3 separate regions of the Homo sapiens genome follow, and all the other regions are linked to region 3. The links are contacts of gene promoters, found by promoter capture Hi-C in blood cells and fetal thymus (Javierre and others, 2016). All regions are on one chromosome and are shown on one strand. Each heading gives the region's core, a stretch centred on a gene start or on the middle of the fragment in contact. The rest is flanking DNA. Distances are from core to core; before and after follow the strand shown. Region 1 overlaps LOC124902409 (a long non-coding RNA gene). Region 2 overlaps CUL2 (cullin 2). Region 3 holds the start of PARD3 (par-3 family cell polarity regulator).

Region 1 (3,807 bases), core at 1,122-3,621, 180 kb after region 3:
GTATCCATTCATTACATGGAAGTATTAAGGTCATTTATATAAATTTTTCCTGAACAGAATGCAAGTTCTAAAAAATAAAGGTCTGTTAAACACCCTAGAATTAAACCTCTCAAATCAGGCAAGATTCTATCAGCACCAAAAAACACATATTTTTTAGTCCTGCATGATATCTTTAATTTATTAAGCTGTGTCCTTGGCTAAAGAAATCAAGAATTTCCAGTGTATGGATGTGGAAATTGGAAGTGGGGATGGAGCAAGGAATGGGTGTGTCATTCTGTCATTCCTTAACAGACCTGAAAAATGCAAAGTTCTTATGTAATTTTCCATATCAGTAATGATTCCATTCTATACTGGATACACATAAACAAATATTTCTCTACCATTACCTGTGAAAAGAAAAAAGCACAGTATGAAATATTTCTGTTCACCAAGACACTCCATTACTTGGCCTGTAAGATAATATCTTAAGAATGCTGTAACTATCCTTCTGCTCCCTTACCCAGTATTGCAACACACACACACACACACACACACACACACACACACACACACACTCATTACTCATCACGGCAATCTTGTGGTCTTCTTTCTGATTACTTATCATTTGATTAGAGTTCTTCTGGAATATTTTCATCAAACAGAAGTAGGTATAGGATTTATTTTCTAAATCTTGTGTAATTTTGAATATATTTCTTTTACCTTAACAGTTATATAGGCTGAGCGCAGTAGCTCACGCCTGTAATCCCAGCACTGAGGGAGGCTGAGGCAGGCAGATCACTTTAGGTCAGGAGTTCAAGACTAGCCTGGCCAAAGTGCTGGGATTACAGGCATGAGCCACCGCGCCCAGCTCACCAGGATATTCCTTAAGTGTTTTATTAATCCAGATTGGAATTTGGTGAATTCTTTCACTTCGAATACTCAATTTCTTTTTAGTACGTATGATTTATTATTATTATTATTGGTTTGGTTTAATTACAGCTTCTCTTCTACTTTTCTTTTTAAAAAACCTTTCTAGGCATTTTATTGTTTACATGTAAGATTGTCTGAATCCAGACTTCAAATACTTTGTCAGTTTCTTCAATATTTCCATCTGCTTGTAATTTTGTTTTATGTTTTGAGATTTTTCTCTCACTGAATCTCCTGGGCCACTAATTTAGCCTGCAACTATCCTCTTCTTCAGTCATCAACTGAAATTTAAAATGAAAAACTCGTGTTTCTTATTTCTTTTTCTTTTTCTTTTTTTTGAGACAGTCTCGCTCTGTCGCCCAGGCTGGAGTGCAGTGGCACGATCTCGGCTCACTGCAACCTCCGCCTCCTGGGTTCAAGTGATTCTCCCGCCTCAGCCTCCTGAGTAGCTGGGACTACAGGCACGTGCCACCACGCCCGGCTAATTTTTTGTACTTTTAGTAGAAATGGGGTTTCACCATGTTGGCCAGGATGGTCTCGATCTCCTCACCTCATGATCTGCCCACCTGGGCCTCCCAAAGTGCTGGGATTACAGGCATGACCTACCGAGCCGGGCCTTGTTTCTTATTTCCACAAAGTATTTTATGCTGTAATAGAATCTCTTCTATTTTGGCTGGGCACAGTGGCTCACAACTGTAATCCCAGCACTTTGGGAGGCTGAGGGAGGTGGATCACTTGAGGTCAGGAGTTCGAGACCAGCCTGGCCAACATGGTGAAATCATCTCTACTAAAAATACAAAAATTAGCTGGGCGTGATGGCAAGTGCCTGTAGTCTCGGCTACTAGGGAGGCTGAGGTGGGAGAATTGCTTGAACCCGGGAGGAGGAGGTTGCAGTGAGCCAAGATCGCACCACTGCACTCCAGGCCTGGGCAACAGAGTGAGATTCCATCTCAAAAAAAAAAAAAAAAAAAAAGAATCTCTTCTATTTTATTTTATTTAAGTATATAAATTTAAGGGGTACAAGTGCAGTTTTGTTACATGGATATATCTTGTAGTGGGGAAATCTAGGTTTTTAGTGTAACCATCACCCAAGTATTCAATTTTACCTTCTTGTTCCTTTTTGGTCCAAGTTATTGAATGCCTTCATAGATTCCTGCTTTTCCTTGGGCCGGTTCCTTTTAGATGGGCCAGTTCCCTTCCTTAGCTCACTCATGAGTCTATTTATCATTGGGGTCCAGACCCAGCTAACAGGATACTTTTGCAATCTCTCAAGTAGTACAAGGTCTAGGATTGGCTTCCTCTATGGTAGGTGACATGCCAGCTGGCAGGTTGAAAGGGGATCTGGGAAGCTTTACTGTCCCTGCTGTCCTCAATGGCAAAAGCTAGATCTGTGCAGCCTCAGGCCTGTGGGACACCATCTTTTCACCCTTGAAGCTCTCTCCTTAGGAGATCAGCAGTGCATAGATTTTCTCCAGCCCAGCTCTCCAGAGAAAGGGAGCTCTGGTCATTGCTCTGGGCTTCTTACTGCTGGTCCCACCCCCAGCCTGCTTCAGTCATTCCTGTTGGTTGAACAGGAGGCACCAAGCTTCACCTGCCTGATGGCCACAGCTTTAGCTGCACTCAGGAAGGGGAGTTAAGCTGGTGGTTGAAATAGATGTAGGAAGAGAAACTTGCCATTGTGTCTCATTGGTTTAGGGATGCAGAACCATGGCAACTTCCATGAAAGGCTGCAGAGAGAAAATGAGAAATATTTAGAGCAGTAATTTTTTATTGCTGCCTGTAGAGTCTGAATCAATGGGAAGGCAAATATTATTTATCAAACACTTAAAATAGTATGTCAGGCATGGCGCTAGGAACTTCAGATAAGTTATCTCATACAATCTTCACAACACTATAGTTTTTGTTCGTTAAGAGATGGAAGGAGCTTGCTCGGGGTCACCTTGGCAAGCTATTCAATGGACTAGAATGATTCATCTTCCAAATGTCTACAGTTCCCCATTGAGCTGGAGAGAGAGGGCAGCCTCCCTAACGAGCCAGCTCTACAGCTTCAGCTCCCAAAGCTTGCAGAGTACCAGTTGCCATGACAACAGGACAAAATGCAGAGACCCTAGCTGCTGGGAGGAAATGACATGAGCCAAAAGAGTAAAAACTCACCCCGGTACTGGAATGTATGAGTCACTTACAAAGAACACCTGTAATTTTGAGAGCTTAAACCACCAGAGGGAGACAGAGATTGCCACAGGCGGGGGAATCTGTCTGTATTCCAAATGCTGCTGCCTCCCAGCGCTCCCGCCTTTTCCCCACACTAAGGGCCTCTGCCCAGTCTCCCAGGCTGACCCTTCCTCTTTCAGAGCTCCTCAAACTATCTCCTCCCAACTGGAGCTCAGGACTTGGGACCTGGCCCCTTGAGGGTGACAGAAAGGTGACTTGCATCTTCTGGGGGAAAAAGCAGAGGCATTCAGAAACGAGAGCCCTTCCAGAAAACCAGTTTGCACAATGACCAGGAACTCTGACACCTTAAGCCCATGCGAATCTTGAATAGAGAAATCTTGGACACTGAGGTAAGGGTGGTGCTCGGAAAGTGTCTTGGTCCAGATTTTTCCAGACCCTTTGATTCACAGTGGCATAGATGCTGGCAACCTGCTTGCTAATCGCCCAAGCGATTCCAGCCTGGTGTCAGGGAGGAAGATGCCCTCCGTCCTCTTTCATCTGGAAAAAGCAGGGTAGCATGTGTTAACTCTTACATATCAAATTCCTCTAGGAATTCTGGGGATTCCTTTTATTTGGCTCAGAGAGGAAACACCTAGAACATTTATACTCTAACCCAGAGAACTGAGGTGGTTTCCTGGGTATTTCTGATGTGCATTAAGAAAGAAGCTATTTCATTTAAGCCAAAACATA
Region 2 (4,064 bases), core at 1-2,500, 210 kb after region 3:
TAAATGCATTTTACCTGTACACAGATAATGTAACCATGTAAGTTTCCTTCCACTGAAATGTTGGCTATAAAATAATTCAAACTGTAAAAAAAAAAAAAAAACACACATTATTTTTAGCTACTATAACTTGCCTAGTTAATTAACACAATACTACAAAAGCAATGAAAACCATTCATATTAGAAGAGACATTAAAGCCCATCTGGTTTACCTCCTTCTTTTACAGAGGAGAAAGCACGTTCCTGTGGTCCCTAATCAAGGCTATACACATATATTCCAGCTCTTTTAATTGACAACTTGTTCTAGAGTTCTCTCCACTAAACCACAGCACTGCAAATTTGACTTTCTGTATGACACAGTGATTCATTATCATTTCTGAATAATACTAACATGGACTTTATAAATTCTACTAACCAAACACAGCAACATATATATTTCACCATGAAAAGAGAAACCCTACCTTCATCTCTAATCTCCCATTTGCCAACATATAGCTTCCACATTCAATTAGACACAAATACGAAGTTTTAGGGTATATCTCTGGATTATTCTTTTGCTGATATTATTGTGAACAATTAAATTTAAATTCTATTAATGTAGCCTTCAAATTTTAAACATTCCTCCCTGGACTGAATGTGTAATTACAGAACAAAAATACAGAGTTCTTTTTTCTTTAATAAAGAGCTAGTATACAATAAAAAGTGGAAAAATGATACTGGATGTGAAAAAGATAAAAACTCAATTTCTTTATAAAACTAAAAAATAAACTGCATTATGCCAGTTCAGAATTCTGAATAAACTTTTAGCATGATGTACCATATATAACATACTTAAAGCTTTTATTTGTATATCAAACTTTACCTTTTGTACTTTAAAAAGGAAGTTCACATAAAGCAGTCAGCAATGACTGACCTATCAGCTATATTATGACCACTCCTTAACAGCAAAAGTTAATAGCTCCAGCCAAGAAAATGAGTCAATTCCTTCAGCAGTTACTCTAAGTTTGCCTAGTCCTGGGAAGCTGAAATATGTTGAGCCTATTTTCCCTCTAATGGTGCAGCATCCTCCTCTACCAGCAGATCCACCAATCCCTTTGCAGGATGAACAGGAGATGACTAGCACCTGGAATACTTCAGATTGCCTGCTTAGTTCTAATCCAGACAAACAGCAAATTGAAATATGTCATAAGAGGATTTCAGAAGTATGATCTGACTAACTAATAACTCCCAGGGATATCAATAAAATTCAATCACTACTATATAATTCACAATTTATAACACATTTACAATGAATCTGGACAAAAGCAAAATAAAAGTTAAAAAAACTTTCATTTTTTTCTCAAAACACTTTCGGAAATGAGAAATTCCAGCTTTAAAATGCTCATAATTTAAAGTGCAAAGCTGGCTTTAAAAGGTATATTCCAAGCTCTAAAAACATGTTTTACCTCTTCAGTAGTACTATTTGGTAAAGTTTTATTGACGATAATATCAATATGCCAAAAGAAGATACTGATTCATCCTTACATTTAAAATCTGACTACAAAGACTCTCGTATCTATAGCTAGTCAAGAACAAACAGACTCCAATAAATTCATCAATTCATATGGCACTACAAAGACCAAAGTTATAAAACCTTCCTTGATTATATCATTAAAATAATTGTGTTAGCAAAGCTTATTAGTAAAAAATATATGTTGACTAAACTTATTTTATTTTTTTAAATTTTATTATTATTATACTTTAAGTTTTAGGGTACATGTGCACAATGTGCAGGTTAGTTACATATGCATACATGTGCCATGCTGGTGTGCTGCACCCACTAACTCGTCATTTAGCATTAGGTATATCTCCTAATGCTATCCCTCCCCCCTCCTCCCAGACTAAACTTATTTTAAAATAAACAGGATAAAAAACAGCATTTTTCAAACACTGTTTAAGGGCATTAATTAGATCTCAAAGAGCCTTAAAAATTCAATGAGTTTATTTACCTTTAATAGATAGCTACATTAATATACACTACTTTAGATACTTTTTTTTTTTTTTTTTTTGAGGCGGAGTCTCGCTCTATCACCCAGGCTAAAGTGCAGTGGCGCAAACTCGGCTCACTGCAACCTCCACCTCCTGGGTTCAACCGATTCTCTTGCCTCAGCCTCCAGAGTAGCTGGGACTACAGGTGCATGCCACCATGCCCGGCTAATTTTTTCTATTTTTAGTAGAGACGGGGTTTCACTGTGTTAGCCAGGATGGTCTCAATCTCCTGACCTCATGATCCGCCCGCCTCGGCCTCCCAAGGTGCTGGGATTACAGGCGTGAGCCACCGCGCCCGGCAACTTTAGATACTTCTAATATTATTCAGGTTTTTGGCCTAGGTAAAAAAGAAATGTAACAATTAAGATTGACTGGCCTAAAGTATAAAATAAATTACTTTTAATTACAGCTTTAATTCCACAGTTTTGAGATACTTTGGTGTAAAATAAAGGTAATTCTTGATAGTTATATTTAAGATTAAGATGTAAAAAATGCAAATCATCACTAAGGCAGGATGGATTAATTTACATGAGAAAACTGTACACTATTAAGTATACAAATGGATTTCAATCCTATGTATCTGAAAACTTGGACTTACTAGAAAAAAAATAAAGGACAAACTCCCTCTACTGGTAATTGGAGACAATTCAAATGGAGAGAATAGTATTTTTGGAATCAGAATTTTACAGACAGAAACTCACTTCCTATTTGTAAATGGGGAAACTAAAACCTGAGGAAGACTATACATCAACAAATAAAGTTTAAAGAGTTAAAAACTATAAATAGAAAATAATTATTTCAAGGAAAGAGGAAAGAAAAAACTAAAGGAAAACTTCATTTCTGCCAGCTCCTATTCTCTCCCTTAATTTCAATCAGGGACACATGATATTTAAAAAGAAATGTAAAAGACTGCCAAGGCCAGGCATGGTGGCTCATGCCTGAAATCCCAGCACTTTGGGATGTATCCTTTCTGCAAAATTTGTAATAACCTTGGATTATAGTCTGCCCCATCCAATGAATGTCTGCACAAATGCTCTTCTTCACATAGTTTCTAAAATAGTCTGTGCTACAATCTCTTTTCAAAGAAGATGTAAGAAGTCCTAATTTAGCCTCCTATTCTGAAAGTCTATCATGCTTGCCTTCCTGAAACCTACCTGACTGGTTACAGGACTCTCCTCTATTAGTTATTACCACGAAACTAATAACCACTATCAATCACTGTTACTACTTACTCTACTAGCAGTTACTTCACATATATTTACCTACATTACAGGACAGAAATAAAAATATTACAAGGGCTGAATGAGGTATTTGGTCAAAATTCAAAAGGAAAACTGGTAAGTGATATTTTAGGTGTTGAATTCTAAGCTTTCTTCTGATATCAACATTTTTATAATTTAAAACTGCTTAATAGCAGATGATAGACTTACTCAGAATAAGAGACATGCTTTGACAAAGAACTGTATGACATTCTTCTTAGCATTTTAGTATCAATATTAGTAACTACAATAACTTACATTCTTCCTAAAGGGCAGACTGACTATAATTTCTGAATCTATTTTTATCACATGAACCCTTAAGACTCTGAAAAAATATTAAAGGTGATATAATATGAAGACAATTATTAAAATTCCTTTAGTCTTCTAATATATTTCCTGCAAACTTACCATCTGTACACTTTTTTCTAATTCCTGGGGAATTGCAAACGTAGATGAAGGAGCCTGAGTAAGAGGCCACGCACCAGCCTAGAAGGAAAAAAATAAAATAAAATAAGCTAAATGGATCAACATCTAAATTCAAAGTAAATATTTATTAAATAATCTAAGCATCTAAAACATTTTTTTCTTCCTCAAAATGTTGATGAAATCTGAGTATTTCTATCATGGCACATTTCATTCCAAACCAATAGGACCTTTTTTTGTTTTTTTTTTTTGAGATGGAGTCTCACTCCATCACCCAGGCTTCAATGCAGTGGCACGATCTCCGCTCACTGCAACCTCCGCCTCTGGGGTTCAAGCAATTCTCCTGCCTCTGCCTCC
Region 3 (3,655 bases), core at 1,147-3,646:
GTTAATAAGGACCAGGTCCGTGACCAAGGCCCTGCACTCTAGCCACCCAGCATCCCAGAGGCCACCTCTTCTCCCCATGTCATCACCAGCTCCTTCACCTGGAGGACCCCGCAGCCTCTTGCTCAGCTTCTCACAGCCAGTGGGTCCCTTAGATGTCCAGCACCCAGAACAGTGCCATGGACACAGTCAAAGCTTCAGAATTTCTGTGGAACGAATGCCTGGAACAACTACATTTGAACTACTGCCAAACAGGCAGTTCAGCCTATGTCTATTTTGTGCAGGATGAAACATGGGACACAGTAGGTAAAACAATTTTAATCACATAAAATTAGTAAAGTGAAAGAAAATGTTGACCACCCTCTTCCTATTCAGGAGCCTAGACGTACTGCAGAGTGCATATTACTTTATTTCTCTTTCCTTGCACAATTTGTTTTGTTGGTTTCCAGAGTGCCTGAACAATTTGAGTACTCTTTTGGAACATTTAAAGCATAAACTGTCACACATAAACAACACTTAAAAATGCTAAATGTCCATTTAGATGGTTTTCTTTCCCTTTGTCAGCTTTGCAAGATAAACAGGTGCCCAATTCCCACTAATTTTATTTGATTTTCAATAAAAGAGTTCAACTGTAAGGAACATAACAGAGCTACTAAAGCCAACGTCTTCCATCCTTGTGTCGGGTCTCCAAACGTCCCCCAAAATTATCTTTAAAAGGCCAAATTTATGCTATTTTTTCCAATATATACTAAAAGCAAAACAAAAGTCTAAAAAGCTTTTACTTCTTAATTTCTGAGAGAACTGAAGATGCCACCGGAGTACCCTGTGTACGCTCAATAGGGCTGACCAAGCCACTTTCCAACGTCATTTGCAGCCCCCAAGCCCACAGGGGCCAGGCCACTGTCGGGAACAAATGGGAAATACTGCACCCAAACGAATGCGCTCCCCACCAAAGAGGACTCTACTACAAAGGAAATATATCCCCGGGTGCTTGGGAGAAACTTCAGCGTGGGCTGTTGTCAAACACAGACACAGTCGGTAAAACAATTTAACAAAACGCCTTTTCACTTCTGACACACAGTAGAGGAATGCTGTGAAGTGGAGACAATGTTATCAGTCCACCAGGAAAAAGGGAAATCCACTCAACTCCCAAGTCAGGCCCGGCCCCGCAGCCCAGCCACATGGAACCAGCCCGGGATAGGTAGGAGCTGAGGTCCTCGCAGGAAAACTTTTCATTCCGCGACTCTTCCAAGGTTGTGCTTTCCAGAGCCCAGCAAGTGGGATCAGCTCAGTAAATGCTCGCAAGCGAGTGCCAAGTGCCAGCGGTGGCCCTCCCGGGAACGCCTCCCCGACCCCAAGCCGGCGACTCCCCAAACCCTGCAGCCCCCGGACGCGACGGGCCGCCCCTGCCGGCCCCTACCAGCAGGGGACATGGAGGAAAAGCCCCCCGCCGCTGTTCCGCCCCCGCCCGAGTAAGGGAGAGGAGGCAGAAGGCTCGCAACCCGCCTCTGTCGGAAGGGCAGTCACGAAACTCTCCTCACACCAAAAGTTCCCAGTCCCCGGCCTGTGCCCCCGGGGCCTGGGAGCCGGGAAAGGCCTGGGGCTGGATTTCCCGGCCTGCGCCCCCCGCGCGCTGGCTCGGGGCTTGGCTGGGTCTGCAGACTCCGGGGAGGCGCCCAGGGCCGGCCTATGCGCCGCTGCCCGGCTCGCCCCGCGCTACCGAGGCCGGAGCTCCCGGGCGGAGGGTGAGGGCGGGGGCCGCGGGACCCGGCTGGGTGTCCCAGAGGCTGCGCCCCGGCCCGCGCAGAGAACTTTGGCGCCCGCAGTCCGGGGCGGGGGGCGCCCGCGAGGCCCGACCGGCCGCACTTTCCCTTTCCCCGCCTCCCTGCGCCTCTCCTCCCCCTTCCAGGAAGCGCCATATTGATCCCGGCGCCGTCCCCGCCGCCGCCCCCTCCCCGCCCGCGCCCCCGGCCCCTCACCTTGGCGATGGCCTTCCGGTAGCGGGTCACCGCCTGCTGGATGAGGCTGAAAACTTTCATGTGGCCGTCCCCGCACGGCACGACCACCCGGGTCCGTCCGAAGCACACGGTCACTTTCATGCCGCCGCCGCCGCGGGCGGGCCCGCGCCCCTCGCCGAGCGCAGCCGGAGCAGCCGAGGCCGGGACCGAGGACGCTGGGCGCGGAGGAGCCGCTGGGGACTCGGGCGCGCGGGCGGCTAGGGGCGCGGGCAGGCGGCGGCGACGCCGGGGGGCCGCTCAGCTCGCATGCCCGGCCCGGCCGCCCTCGCCTCGCCTCGCTTCGCCCGGGGCTTGCCTCGCCTCTCCCCGCCGCGGCGCCCGCAGCCTCCGGCCACCTGTTCGGCGTCGCGGCGCGCTCGCCGGCGGCTGCCCGGGGCTGTGTGGCGCTGGCGCTCGCTCGGGGCCGCTGGGGGAGGGGACGGCGGGAGGGGAGGGGAGGGGAGGGGAGGGGAGGGGGAGGAGCAGGGCAGGGCACACAACACCGCGCACATGCGGCAGGGGGAGGCGCGGCCGGCTACCCGCGCGGGGCGGAGCGCAGGACCGCAGCTCGCGCCCCCGCCACCGCCCTCGGGGGCCGACCTCCTTCCCTCCTTCCCTCCCTCCCTCCCTCCCTCCGGGGGCGCGGGACCCCTCGCCCCAGTGCCAGCACGGGCAGGCGGCCGTCTGCCCCCACCAGCCCTGGCCCAGGCGCCCCCCAGCCCCCTTCACCCCGCCCGCCCAGCACCCTGCAGGGCTGCGTCGCCCCTCCTCGGGGACGCCCCTTCCACGCCTCCAGAAGTCTCCACGGAGCCCCCCTTCCCCTTTCTTTGTCACTTTTAATCCCATTCCTCGAACTGGAGGGTTTTGGGTGCAGGCGCTCCCGGGGAAAGCAGTTTGTGCTCAGTGCGGTGAGTCCCCTCCTCACCGCCCCGGAGGCTCCAGCCCGAGCCTCTCCGCCCGCGGGGACTCGAGCCTGCAGCTTGCTCGGCTGGGTTTCTGCCCTGCCCGCTCCCTAGCTCTGCTGCAGGGCCGGCAGCGGCAGTTCTGCCTGAAACGCAAGAATTAATAGTCTGCTCTGGGGAGACAGTGGGGAAGCCGTGAGCGACCGGGCCTTTTCCAGAGGCCACTATTTACCTTGAAGTTTCCTGTTGACCCTCTGCTGACCCACCCGCTTAAATAGATTAGAACTTAAACATCGCAATTCTGATACATTTATTTCTTTGAAGTTCTGCAGCATAAGGAATCCTAACGCGAATCCGTGAACAGTCTATTCCGACGGCGCAGAGAAATCTCACGCGGGGATCCCCACGATGTGCCGGCGCTTAACGCAGACGCCCGAACCCAGGGGAAGGCTGCGACTCCGCGATGAGTGACATGCGGGCTTGAGACGTTCTAAAGGAACGTGGACCGAGTTAGGGAACGTAACTGAAGCTCATTTTGTCTTAGTTATGGACTATGAGTCCTTAATAAATGTATGTCATTATGTTTAAAGAATGACAAATGTCTGCAAAGAGTGGTCCCTGTCCCAAGCCCTTTCCAGACTATGTGAAATTCTTTTTTGCCAGTTGTTTCCAAGACACGTGAAAGCAATCAAGCTCCCCTGGGTTGGCGCAGAACTTGAGCACTTAAGAGCTGGAAGAGCTGGCGATCGACCATCCATC

What was found. Contacts are between HindIII fragments. The CHiCAGO score rates a contact against its expected background, and 5 or more counts as called.
Region 1: a contact is called between a fragment that was not itself captured here and the fragment with the promoter of PARD3 in region 3, in 1 of 17 cell types (fetal thymus). The highest score is 5.6, in fetal thymus.
Region 2: a fragment that was not itself captured here is called in contact with the fragment with the promoter of PARD3 in region 3 in 1 of 17 cell types (megakaryocytes); the score reaches 5.4 in megakaryocytes.

Annotation. Positions count from the first base shown.
Region 1 is chr10:34,991,730-34,995,536 of GRCh38, forward strand. LOC124902409 (a long non-coding RNA gene) reads right to left here. Exons shown (of 2, transcript XR_007062110.1): 2 at 1,883-2,633. Among named protein-coding and RNA genes, the nearest start is that of LINC02635, 21 kb to the left of the region's middle. The HindIII fragment of the contact is 236 bases long and covers 2,254-2,489 here.
Region 2 is chr10:35,025,118-35,029,181 of GRCh38, forward strand. CUL2 (cullin 2) reads right to left here. Exons shown (of 21, transcript NM_003591.4): 16 at 3,693-3,770; 17 at 15-81. Among named protein-coding and RNA genes, the nearest start is that of MIR3611, 53 kb to the right of the region's middle. The HindIII fragment of the contact is 836 bases long and covers 833-1,668 here.
Region 3 is chr10:34,812,900-34,816,554 of GRCh38, forward strand. PARD3 (par-3 family cell polarity regulator) reads right to left here and starts at 2,397. Exons shown (of 25, transcript NM_001184785.2): 1 at 1,977-2,397. The coding sequence starts at 2,096. PARD3-DT (PARD3 divergent transcript) reads left to right here and starts at 2,869. Exons shown (of 2, transcript NR_108043.1): 1 at 2,869-2,902; 2 at 3,221-3,523. RefSeq lists silencers at 1,636-1,915, 2,436-2,605, 2,696-2,745. The HindIII fragment of the contact is 5,100 bases long and covers 771-3,655 here.